Linked DNA regions of Homo sapiens: region 2 is linked to region 1. The links are contacts of gene promoters, found by promoter capture Hi-C in human tissues and cell types (Jung and others, 2019). All regions are on one chromosome and are shown on one strand. The core of a region is centred on a gene start or on the middle of the fragment in contact, and the rest is flanking DNA. Distances in the headings are between cores, read along the strand shown. Region 1 holds the start of NOVA2 (NOVA alternative splicing regulator 2). Region 2 has its middle 8.8 kb from the start of IGFL3.

The links. The method cuts DNA at HindIII sites, captures the fragments that hold promoters and counts their contacts. A contact is called where the count stands out against the background at its distance.
Region 2: a contact is called between a fragment that was not itself captured here and the fragment with the promoter of NOVA2 in region 1, in 5 of the 25 tissues and cell types used here (IMR-90 fibroblasts, lymphoblastoid cells, mesenchymal stem cells and 2 more).

What each region holds. Positions count from the first base shown.
Region 1 is chr19:45,971,321-45,976,511 of GRCh38, forward strand. It overlaps NOVA2 (NOVA alternative splicing regulator 2), which reads right to left and starts at 2,545. Exons shown (of 4, transcript NM_002516.4): 1 at 1,947-2,545. The coding sequence starts at 2,031. RefSeq lists a silencer at 2,711-2,870. The HindIII fragment of the contact is 35,305 bases long and covers 1-5,191 here.
Region 2 is chr19:46,112,938-46,118,757 of GRCh38, forward strand. It overlaps a transcript of IGFL2 not described here and the pseudogene LOC100533846. Among named protein-coding and RNA genes, the nearest start is that of IGFL3, 8.8 kb to the right of the region's middle. The HindIII fragment of the contact is 4,320 bases long and covers 1,028-5,347 here.

The DNA of each region.
Region 1 (5,191 bases), core at 1,295-3,794:
TGGAGGGCTAGACAGTCTGGCTGGGCTCAGGGACCTCCTGGGTCCCTGACCTCTCCAGGACTGGGAACAGCAGTGGGGCAGGAAGGAGGGAAGGAAGTCGGGGACATATTCATGTGTGTGCTGGGGGTGGGGGAGCAGGAAGAAGGACAGGAAACTCCCTCCCATCCCCTCCCCCAACTTCCCTTTCCTCCAATTTCTGCTGGACACCCTCACAGGCATCCAGGGGGTCCCTGATTCCTGTCCCACCTGGATGGAGGTGGGGGAGGGCTAGGATGGGAGGAAGAAAGTCGGCTTGTATTCATCTGTAGGGAGGAGGTAGGAGGCCCCCACCCCACCCACTGCCAGGCCTGGCGGAGAGGAAAGGGTGCACTCTGCCTGAAGCCATCCCTCTCCCATCCGGAGGAAAAGGCCAGAGGAAGTGGAGATTTTGGCAAGGTGACCGCGGGGAGGGGCTTGTCCGCTGCGGGGTCTCCCTCCTACCAGGGAGCTAGAGGACAGGGCTCTGAGGACCCCAAAAAACCCCACCTCTTCCCTGAGCCCCCCACGGCAGGGCATGCACCTAGAGTTCCCAGCTCGGCTTTTCTTCTCTGGTACACACACCTCCTTGGGTCACACACCCAGGGAGAGCCCCTCTCTTCCCTCACACTGCCTTCCGTGGTGTCAAACATTCGGCAATCTCCAATACACACGGACACACACACAGCCTCCCTTGTCAAACACATGCAGAATCATCCCCATATCTCTGGTGTCACACACTCAGCCATTTCACACACACACCTCTCCTTGTTACACCCATACACACAGCTGGGTGTCATATGCACACGTGCCCTGTCACATGGGGACCCATCCTTCCTTCTCCTTTTTACACACCCTCGTGCGTTTCACCCACAAGCCCCAGCCTCTCCCTCGTCATACACCCACCTTCCCTGTTGCACACACCCCCTCTGATGTCACTGTTGCACACCTCCATGTGTCACACCCAGCCACAGCCTCTCTGGAGTCACACCCACACCCTTTTCTTGTCACATCCCCTCACCAGCCACGCCTGTGTCACACACACTGGACCCCTTTCCTCTGATCTACACGGCCTCTTCTGGCTGACACCCAGAGCCAGCCCATTCGGTGTCCCCCACACACCTCCTTGCATGTCACACACACCCTCTCATGTGTCACACTCTGCCACAGCCCCCTTGGGGGTGACAAGCACACACCTTTCCTTGTCACACGTACCCGCTGGAGGGTCTCAAACATGGAGCCCAGCCCCTGTCCCCTGTCTTTCTCATACACCCCCCTATGCTGTCATATTCCTGATCCCTAATGTCACACATCCAGGCTGTAGAGGGCACACATACACACACACGCACACACATACACACCTGTCCTAGCCTCACATTCTCCCACCTAGCTTTACACACCCACCATTTCCTCCATTTCACCCCACACACCTACCCAGCCTGTCCCCACGCACGATCCGGCCAGGGCCACACAAGCCTCCATCTGGGACAACCCTTGTTCAGGACATCCCCAGGGAGGGAGGCTGGGAAGCTCCCGGTCCACAGGCCTCTACTCCTTCCCCTCCCCCAGCCAGGACACGCGAGCTCGGGGAACACCCCTGCTCCGAAAGGGTCACATCACACACCCCTCAAGGACACACAGACACCTGCCCTGAGGCTCCCACGCCCCCCATCTTCTGCGCCCCCCAAGGACACTTATCACCCCCTCCCCCCCACCCCTCTCCTCGCAGACAAAGCTCCCAGCCCCGGGCCTCAGCGAGAGGAGGAGGGGGTCCAGCCCCCTCCTCAACTCCCCGCTCTGTCCCCCGCCTCGGGGAGGGGTGTCTCTCCCCTCCCCAGAGCCCTTGCACCTGCCACGGGAGGGGGGGAAAGGATGGAGAAAGGCGAGGCCCCCTGCCCGCTCCCCCGCCCCGAGCCGCAGCCCTTTCTCACCTCCCGTGTTGCTGCGCTTGGTGCAGACCACCTCGGGGGGCGTTTCGAGGGGCCTCTTGCGGGAATCCGGGGCCTCGGGCTCCATGGGGGGGGCCTGGGGCGGCGGCTGCTGCTGCTGCGGCGGCTGCGGCGGCGGCGGCGGCGGCTGCTGTGGCGGCGGCGACGGCTGCTGGGGAGGCTGGGGTTGCGGCGGCGGCGGCGGCGGGGGCGGCGGCGGCTGCGGGGCCGCGGAGGCCGTGAAGAGGCCGTGCACCGCGCCGGCGGCCATCATCCTCATGGTGGGGGGGGGCGGGGGGCGGGGGGCGGGGGAGGGGGAGGGGAGGGGAGGTGGGAGGGGGAGGGGGCGGTGGAGGGATGGGGGAGGGGGAGCCCCGGAGAGGGAAGGCGGGGGTAGGGGGGAGCCGGTTCTCGGGGGGCTGACAGAGCCTGGAGAGCGGCCGTGAGCAGGATGGCAGGGCCGAGGGGGGTCTCCGATAGGGCCGGGAAAGAACTGAGAGGTGGGGTCTCTCCTGGGACCACAGAGGCTGGGGACTGGACGCGCCACTGGGGGGACGGGACTCCCCGCTTCTTCTTGGCTCCCTGGGGCAAGAGGGCCGAGCCCCCCAGACCCTGCTCGGGGTGGGGGGCCGGAGGAGCGTGGCCGGAGTGGGAGGCGGAGGCGGCCGCTAGTGGGGGCCCGGGGGGCGGCGGGCGCGGGCGGCGGCGGCGACGGGGCTGGCGGTGGCTGCTGGCCCGAGCATCTTCTTCCCGGAGGCTCCCACAGCGCCTGGCCCCTCCCACCCAACGAGGTCACGCCCATGCCGGGTAGGGCCACGCCCTTCGGCGCCCCCATTGGTCCAGCCTTGAAGCCTGGACCACGTCCCTCTGGGTTGGCCACGCCCCTCCCGGCGGCAGAGAGCTGGACCCGACTCCCCCAGGCTGCTGGGAGGACCCCGGGCTCCTCCAAGCCGTCCCCACTCCTCACCTTGAATGAACGTTTATTGAGCACTTACTGTGTGCCAGGTCCGGTTCCAAGCAAGCACGTCACAGACGTTATCGCATTTACTCCCCAGAGCGACCAGCTCTGTGAGTTACGCTTATTATCCCTATTTTACAGATGAGGAAACAGCCTTAGGAGCTTACTTTGACTTCACTTGGTCAAGACAAGAAATTTCGACTAGGCGCGGTGGTTCATGCCTGTCATCCCAGCACTTTGGGAGGCCGAGGCGGAAGAATCACTTGAGCCCAGGAGTTTGAGACGAGCTGGGCAACAATATTGTGAGACCCCATCTCTACAAAAAAAAAATTTTTTTTTTAATTAGCCAGGCGTGGTAGCACATGCTTGTAGCCCCAGGTACTCTGGAGTCTGAGGTGGGAGGATCTCTTGAGCACAGGAGTTTGAGGCTGCAGTCAGCCATGATCAAGCAACTAGATTCGAGCCTGGGAGACAGAGCAAAACCTTGTCTCAAAAAAAAAAAAAAAAAAGAAAGAAAGAAAGAGAAAGAAATTTCACTTCACTCTTTTTCAATCCTTTCAGCTGGGAAATTCCCCTTCAAATCTTTCATCCATCCTTTGAAGAATCAACACCGTGATGCTGAAAGGGCTCAGAGGATTGAATTCACTGAGCTGGAGTTGCAGCCTGCAGCACCTGCCCTGGGGCACAACTGGCTCTCCATTCAAACAACAGCACTCAGGGCCTACCTACTAAGTGCCAGGCACTGTCCCTGATGCTGCGATACAATAGAGAACAAAACAGCCTTGGCCCTTGTACAGTATTACTACTCATGTCATTAAGAAAAATTTGTTTTCAGATGACAAAGTGGAGGCCTGGGAACATTGAGGGTGGCTTCTTCAAGGGCACACAGCTTGAGAGAGAGAAACTGGGATGAGAACGCAGGACAAGTCCAATTTCAGAGCCCAAAGTCATTGGAACTAGGGTGCCTTTCTTTGGAATGGATCATTGCTATTATTCTGTGTTCCTTGATGCAAGAATTTCCTTCTCCCTGGGTTCTTAACCTCCAAGGAATCTTTCCTTCCTGGGTTGGTCAGAGGCAAGATTAGGCTCAGAAGGGGTCTGGATGCAGGTAATTGTGGCCACTGCGTGATCTGCGGCAGGGGGATCGGCTCCAACCCCCCCCTGCTCCTCCCTTGCCATGCTCTCAGGTCCCCAGGATGGGGGAGGGTAGCAGATGGCCTGGGGTGGATGGGGTGGCTACCCATCTGTCCCCTCCCCCCCATTGTCCCCAGAGCCAAGGGGGATGGGAGGGGGCTGTGGTCCACTGCAGTCTGGATCCTCCCCCTCCATCTTCCTGGAGGGAGCTGAGGAGCTGGTTGCCATGGAGATGGGGAAGAGGCAAGACGGATATAGGGAGATACGGGGGTCAGGCTGAGTACCACACCTTAGACCCTTTGAGTCAAATAGCCTCACACCACACAGGTACATATCCCAACATCCATGAAATTAGCTGTGAAGTTTCCCCCTCTGTGTGACACACACAGAGTCACACTGGCCCTGCTGCAGGTGCACGGTCTCAACACAGTCACACAGACACACTTATAGGGGATAGGCACACGTACACACACATACACACTCATCTGTAATGCACATTCAGTCATGCAGACGCAAGGCCACAACACAGGCTCTCATACACAAATAGACAGACACACATCTAATATGCAGGTATGTCCCAGGTACACACATTCAGAGCCACGACAGCTCCACACTTGGCCCCACACACTCGGAAAAGTTACAAATCCATGATCAAAGCCACAGGACATCCATGGCCTATGTTACATAAGACATATCAGCGACATGTGATGTATAGACTGACGAACAGACTAAGTCTTTCCTTGCACACAAATTGGGTAAACACACACAACACACACATTTAGATACACGGCCCACATAGGCTAACGCACACAATAACTGGACTTCACGGGCCACTCAGTGACACGCACAACACACATGGAAAGCTGTGTGCCGCTCAGCCCCCACCCCCGAGGCATGCCTGCAGCCCCAACCCTGCGCTCCCCCCATCGAGCCCTCCCGTTTGGACACACACAACAGCACGGTCGGTCACGCACTCACACTCACACACAAACACAAACCTCCTGCTAGATATTTTTAAACCCGGGCTAGTTCTGCTGCCATGGCAACCGCCCCAAACCCATCACCATAGCAACCCAACGTCAGCTTTCCAAGCACCAAATCCTGGGGGACTGCAGGGCCCCAATCAGAGGCTGGCGGAGGGGGCTGCTGCACCCTT
Region 2 (5,820 bases), core at 1,938-4,437, 140 kb after region 1:
CTTGTAAGTTTGTTTTAATACCAATTGAAATACAAATGGAATTTTCTTGGAGAAAAGAAAAAGTCTATTAATAAATTGAGAGAGAATTTCTATTTGGGTGCACCCATAGGAGAAAAATCCCATTGCATTCCATCTTTTCATCAGGGCAGCAATAAATATCATGACTAAAACACATCTGTCATAGAGTGTGTGAAATACATCTGAGATGAGACCCAGACTGCTGGTCAACACATCATAGAATGATTCTACAGAGGCAAAAAGCGTTCCGTCCTCTCTTAGAGGGAGATGAAAAGACGTTGGTAGACAAAATGAAGACCTAGTACTCACTATCACTCCTCCAGACAGGATGTGTTCTGCACTTTCCTGGTATGCCATTTTGTTCATAGCCTGAAGTCAGACTGTTGTTGGATGTATTCAGAAATTTCCAAAGCACTAATAAAAACAGGAAAGGATCAATCATGGGGACATTTGGAAACTTCCATTTTGACTGAACAAATGGAATCCACGTAGATATCCAGGATTACGACAAAGAAGATAAGCATTGTGGAAGCCATAAAGGGAGAAATCCAAGATTTATCTTTAACCTCAGTTGTCACAGGAAAGACAATGACCCATGGGCACAAGAGAAGCAGGAAATAAGATGGGATAAAGCTTGAAGACTTTTGGCTCCACTGATGTCTATAGAGAGCTTTCTGGGAGCTGTATGAAAACCAGCTTTACACCACAAAGCCAAGACTAGCAATAATATTCCATGCTTGTTATCTGCCATGTCTAAGAAGGCAATGGTTGTGTAAAGCATGTAAGTTAGAGCCCTGAACTACCCTAATTAAATGGGGTGTTCAGCCGTTTTAGCCTTGAGATCATCACTGTCAAAAAACAGCAATAAATAGATGACAGCAATAATGAAGAAAGCAGTCCCCTGTATTGAAGTTCTGCTCTGTGTTACAAAAAGAGCTTGGTTTATGGCTGTATTTCTTAGAGATGAGAGACAAAATATACAGACAATGGCCAGACCACATATAAAAACAGAACTCTGACCCATAACCTACAGCAGCCTGCCTAGGAAATCAACCCACTTTTCTACAATAAACAGCCCAGGAAGCCACTTGCTGTAAGTCACACTTGTAGGAAGTCAGACTTTCTCTGGTAACAATCCAGGAAACTAAACAGTAACTCCAGTAACAGTCAGCTCCAAATGGCCAGGACTTTATTAATAACTGACAACTTCCCAAATTTTTGTTCCTGTTTCTAACTTAGGAGCAACGTAGGAAAGCCAAATACGTACCCTAAACCAATCCCATAGGATGCTGTGCATCTAGTTAGCTATCCTCAGCTTCCCCATGCCAACAGCCTCCAATCAGGGAACATGCGAAAAAAAGGGTGATACCTTTTCCACTATAAAGCTTTCCTACTCCTCTGCTGGTCTTTGAGTCTCTCCCAAAATGGAAGTGATGGTGGCTGACTTCTTTGTTGTAGAATAGATAGCCTTTACTTTCTTATTTGGTTAGTCTTTGTTTTCACAGAAGTTATTGGCGAACTCCATTTATTAAAGTCATGGGTGCTGATATGGTTTGGCTCTGTGTCCCCACCCAAATCTTACCTTGAATTACCCCACATGTTAGGGAGGGACATGGTGGGAGGTGATTGGATCATGGGGGCAGTTTCCCTCATTCTTTTCTCGTGATAGTGAGTGAGTTCTCCTGAGATCTGATGGTTAAAAAGTGTGGCACTTTCTCCTTCTCTCTCTCCTGCCACCATGTAAGATACGCCTTGGTTCCCCTTTGCCTTCTGCCATGATTTTAAATTTCCAGAGACCTTCCCAGCCAAGCGGAACTGTGAGCCAATTAAACCACTTTTCTTTATAAATTACCCAGTCTCAGGCAGCTCTTCATAGCAGTGTGAAAATTGACTAATACAGGTGCTTTTTGAAAATGCAGTTTCCTGGACTCCCCACAGGTTTACAGAATCAGAATCTCTGGGAGTAAGGCCCAGAAATTTGCATTTTCATCCATAGCCCTAGTGGCTCTCATGCATACTAATATTGAGGACCAGTGTCCTAGAATATTTGGTGATTATCTTTCTCTGGCATTTGTATCACACCTATGTTCATCCATAGCCCTAGTGACTCTTGTGCATGCTAATATTGAGGACCAGTGTCCTAGAATATTTGGTGATTATCTTTCTCTGGTTTTCGTATCACAACTATGTTATGTGTATGAAATACCTAACTATCCCCACTTGTGTGTTTCAAAAGGTCCTTTTGCCTACAGGAGCAGGCTAAATCTCATGACATTCCCCACACTCAATCCTCACCCAGAATTCCTGAGCTCTGGGGAAGGTGCCATCTCCAGCCTGGTTTGCAAGCCAGAAACACAGGCTCTCTCTTACAGGGAAAATGAAAATACATTTTAAAAATGTGAATAACCCCCAAAATATCAGGTAAGGCACATAAAACAAAAATAAGGCGGCGTCAGTAGAAAACACAAGACAAAATGAAATGCAGCGAATCACTGGAAATGTTGAGGGAAGTAGCAGTTCTGGGTCAGGGGAGGCAGAAACAGCTACAGCTTGGGAGCTGTGGCCAGTGTGTTCTCTGAGAGGTAGCTATGCAGACCCAAGCTAACAGCCAACCCCAGAAACCTCAGCCTGATTCAGATTCACCTCAGGGTGAATCTGGTGACTCAGCCTGAGTGGGAGCAGTTTCACTACCCGACTCTCTGTGTAATTTAATCTTGTGTTTGCAGCCAATACCTAGCCAATACAGAAAATTAATGTATGGGAGGAGGCCAGCTGCTCTTGACATGGAAAGTTCAGATTATTTTCAAGCTTCAAGAAGGGAACCAGCGACAGGGATAAATGAATGAGTAGAGCCACTTACCAGCAAAAAGCGTTGGAATTTTTTCTATACCACTCCAGCCCCTCATTGCAGGGCTGCTGTAGAGAACTGATGTCCCCAGTTCTGCCCATCTCAGGTATACTCCAGGAGGCTCGCCGGCTGACAGCTTCCTTGCTCTGCCGCCTGTGTGAAGGGGCTGCCACTCTCTGTTCTCAGGTCTTGGTGACTGATGATGGGTCCATTTTTCCTTTTGTTGATGTTATAAGTGGGACTGTTAATTCTATTTTTGGATTGTTCATTTCCCAATCTTTTTTTTTATTATTATACTTTAAGTTCTAGGGTACATGTGCACAACATGCAGGTTTGTTACATATGTATACATGTGCCATGTTGGTGTGCTGCACCCATTAACTCGTAATTTACATTAGGTATATCTCCTCATTTCCCAGTCTTTTAAGACATACCAAATAATTTTCTCTGTGAGTGTGAGCTTACAGAAAAGAGCTCTCGTTGTCTTTCTGGCAGCAACACCGTTGATAATGCATTGCTGGCAATATCTACTTGTGGTTTTCTGTAAAAATGCTGTGAGTTTAAGGACATTTACCTAATAGTCTGACTGGGAAATCCTAGATTTTAGTAATTAAAAAAATACATTGCTTTGCCTCTAGCAAATAAGAACAATGTCTCTTTGCTGATTCAGATATATTGAATCTTTCCAAAGCATTTGCTTTAGTTAAAGCAATTTTTGATTAGTATTATTCTAATTAGAACAATTTTTAAATTTTTACAGATGAGGTTTCACTCTGTTGCACAGGCTAGTCTCGAAATTCTGGCCCCAAGGAATCCTCCTACCTCAGCCTCCTGGGTTGTGGGGATTACATGTGCTTGCTACTGAAGCGGGCCAATTAGTATTTTTTTAATGGACAAGTTATAATTGTGTGCATTTATTTGATACAATGTGATGTTCTAATTCATGTAACGGAGTTCTGGGAAAGTCATACCAACCTACAGTGGTACCTTTGTGGAAAGATTAAATCAAGCTAATTAACATACCCATTACCTTGCTTATTATTTTTAGTTTTAATAGAGCCAGTAAATCTTTTCACACTCGAATTTAACTTATATTAAATTATTTATATTGTACAACTTACACAAGTTAAATTAATTAACTTGTTTATCTTATATTAAATTAGGCAATTATAATAACTAGTAAAAATTTTATATACTGGTTTGGCATAAACTTAATTGATTGGAGTAAAAGTAGGCAAGGATTTGATTCTAAAATGAAGCCTTAAAATCTTGAGCTTTATTTTGACTATTTTTTTCTCATTATGTAAGGTACTTTATTATTTATTTTTAAAATAATTTTAAGCTTTAATTGAGCTAAGCCTATTCAGTAAGTTTTTCAGTATACCTAGAGAATAAAGGTTAATTGAGGCTGCAGTTAGGAAGATTTCTCTCTTTTTAAATTTTTATATTTTGTAGATATTTTGTAGGTATGAGGTGTCACTATGTTGCCCAGGCTGGTCTTGAACTCCTGGCCTCAAGTGATCATTTTACTTCTGCCTCTCAAAGTGCTAGGATTACAGGTGTGAGTCATTGCACCAGGCCAAGAAGAATTCTCTTAAAAGTCAATTTTTTTTTCTGATTGAATTGGTGGTTTCCAGTCCCTTCTTTTTTGTTGTTTTTTGTTTGTTTGTTTGCTTGCTTGCTTGATTTTTTTAGAGACAGAATTTGTGCTGTCACCCAGGCTAAAGTGCAGTGGTATAATCATAGCTCACTGCAGCCTCAAACTCCTGGGCCCAAGGGATCCTCCCACGTCAGCCTCTCAAGTAGCTGGGACTACATGCATGTGCCATCAAGCCTGGCTAATTTTTTTGTATTTTTAGTAGAGACGGGGTTTCACCATGTTGGCCAGGATGGCCTCGATCTCTTGACCTCGTGATCCACCCACCTTAGCCTCCCAAAGTGGTGGGATTACAGGTGTGAGCCACCGCGCCCGGACTACCATCTGTTCATTTTTAAAATGAATCTTGCTTGGGACTACAGGCCCCAGAATGGAGATAGCACTTCTTCCTGCAGGAACCAGGGACCACCTCACTCTCTTGACACTACAGAGCCTGCCTTCCTTAGCCCCTGCTTGTTAGGTGCTCCTAAATGCAACCTTTGTGGCCATACTTAGCATGCAGTGTCCTCCCTCAGGCTGTGAGCATACGTGGGGCTAATAATCTACTGTTGATTTTATCCACCCAGAATTAACGTCCTGTGTTTTGCCATCCCCACAGCCCTAGGGTGGGCATCCTTTTCTTATAAACAAGGTAAACAGGAGGCAATTAAAACAATAAAAAATTTTAAAGAGAAGTTTAGTGTTCATAAATGTCTTTAACATTAAACCACCGATAGTCTAGAGGCAGCCTTTCAAACTTCTATAAATTGGAATAGACTTTGGAGATGAATCATAACGGCTGAATAGATGCAGGTATGTTTGTCTCCCCCACAGAGAAAACCAGAATAGCAAGTAGATACTCACATTTCAAACAAATGGTCTAGGAGAGAATGCTGAGGTTCACCAGAGAAGAGATGGGAAGCACCAGAAGTAAGAAAAGGGTTTGAGGCAGCTTGCCCACCTGGGATTGACTGAGCTGGGAGAGGCTCCTGGAATGTGTGGGGAAGCAGTAAGAGAGAAAGCCCCTGGGCTCCACACTCCTAGACAGGCTTTTATAATCTTGGCTGTGGGAGAAACCCCGGACTCATTAGGGCCTCCGGCCTGACATATGAAGCTGCCCAAAGATGTTGCTCCAGAAAGGGAACCCCCACACACTCCCACAGGCATCTGAACCCTGGGCAGCCTCAGATGGGCACCATTTTGAGAGCCCAGACATCAGGTATCTACAGACAGCTGCTGCCACTTTACTGCTGCAAGGAGGCAGAGGGGAGACCAGGCACTCCCATGCACCCCTGGGAGAGTTACTGCCTCCCTGCTG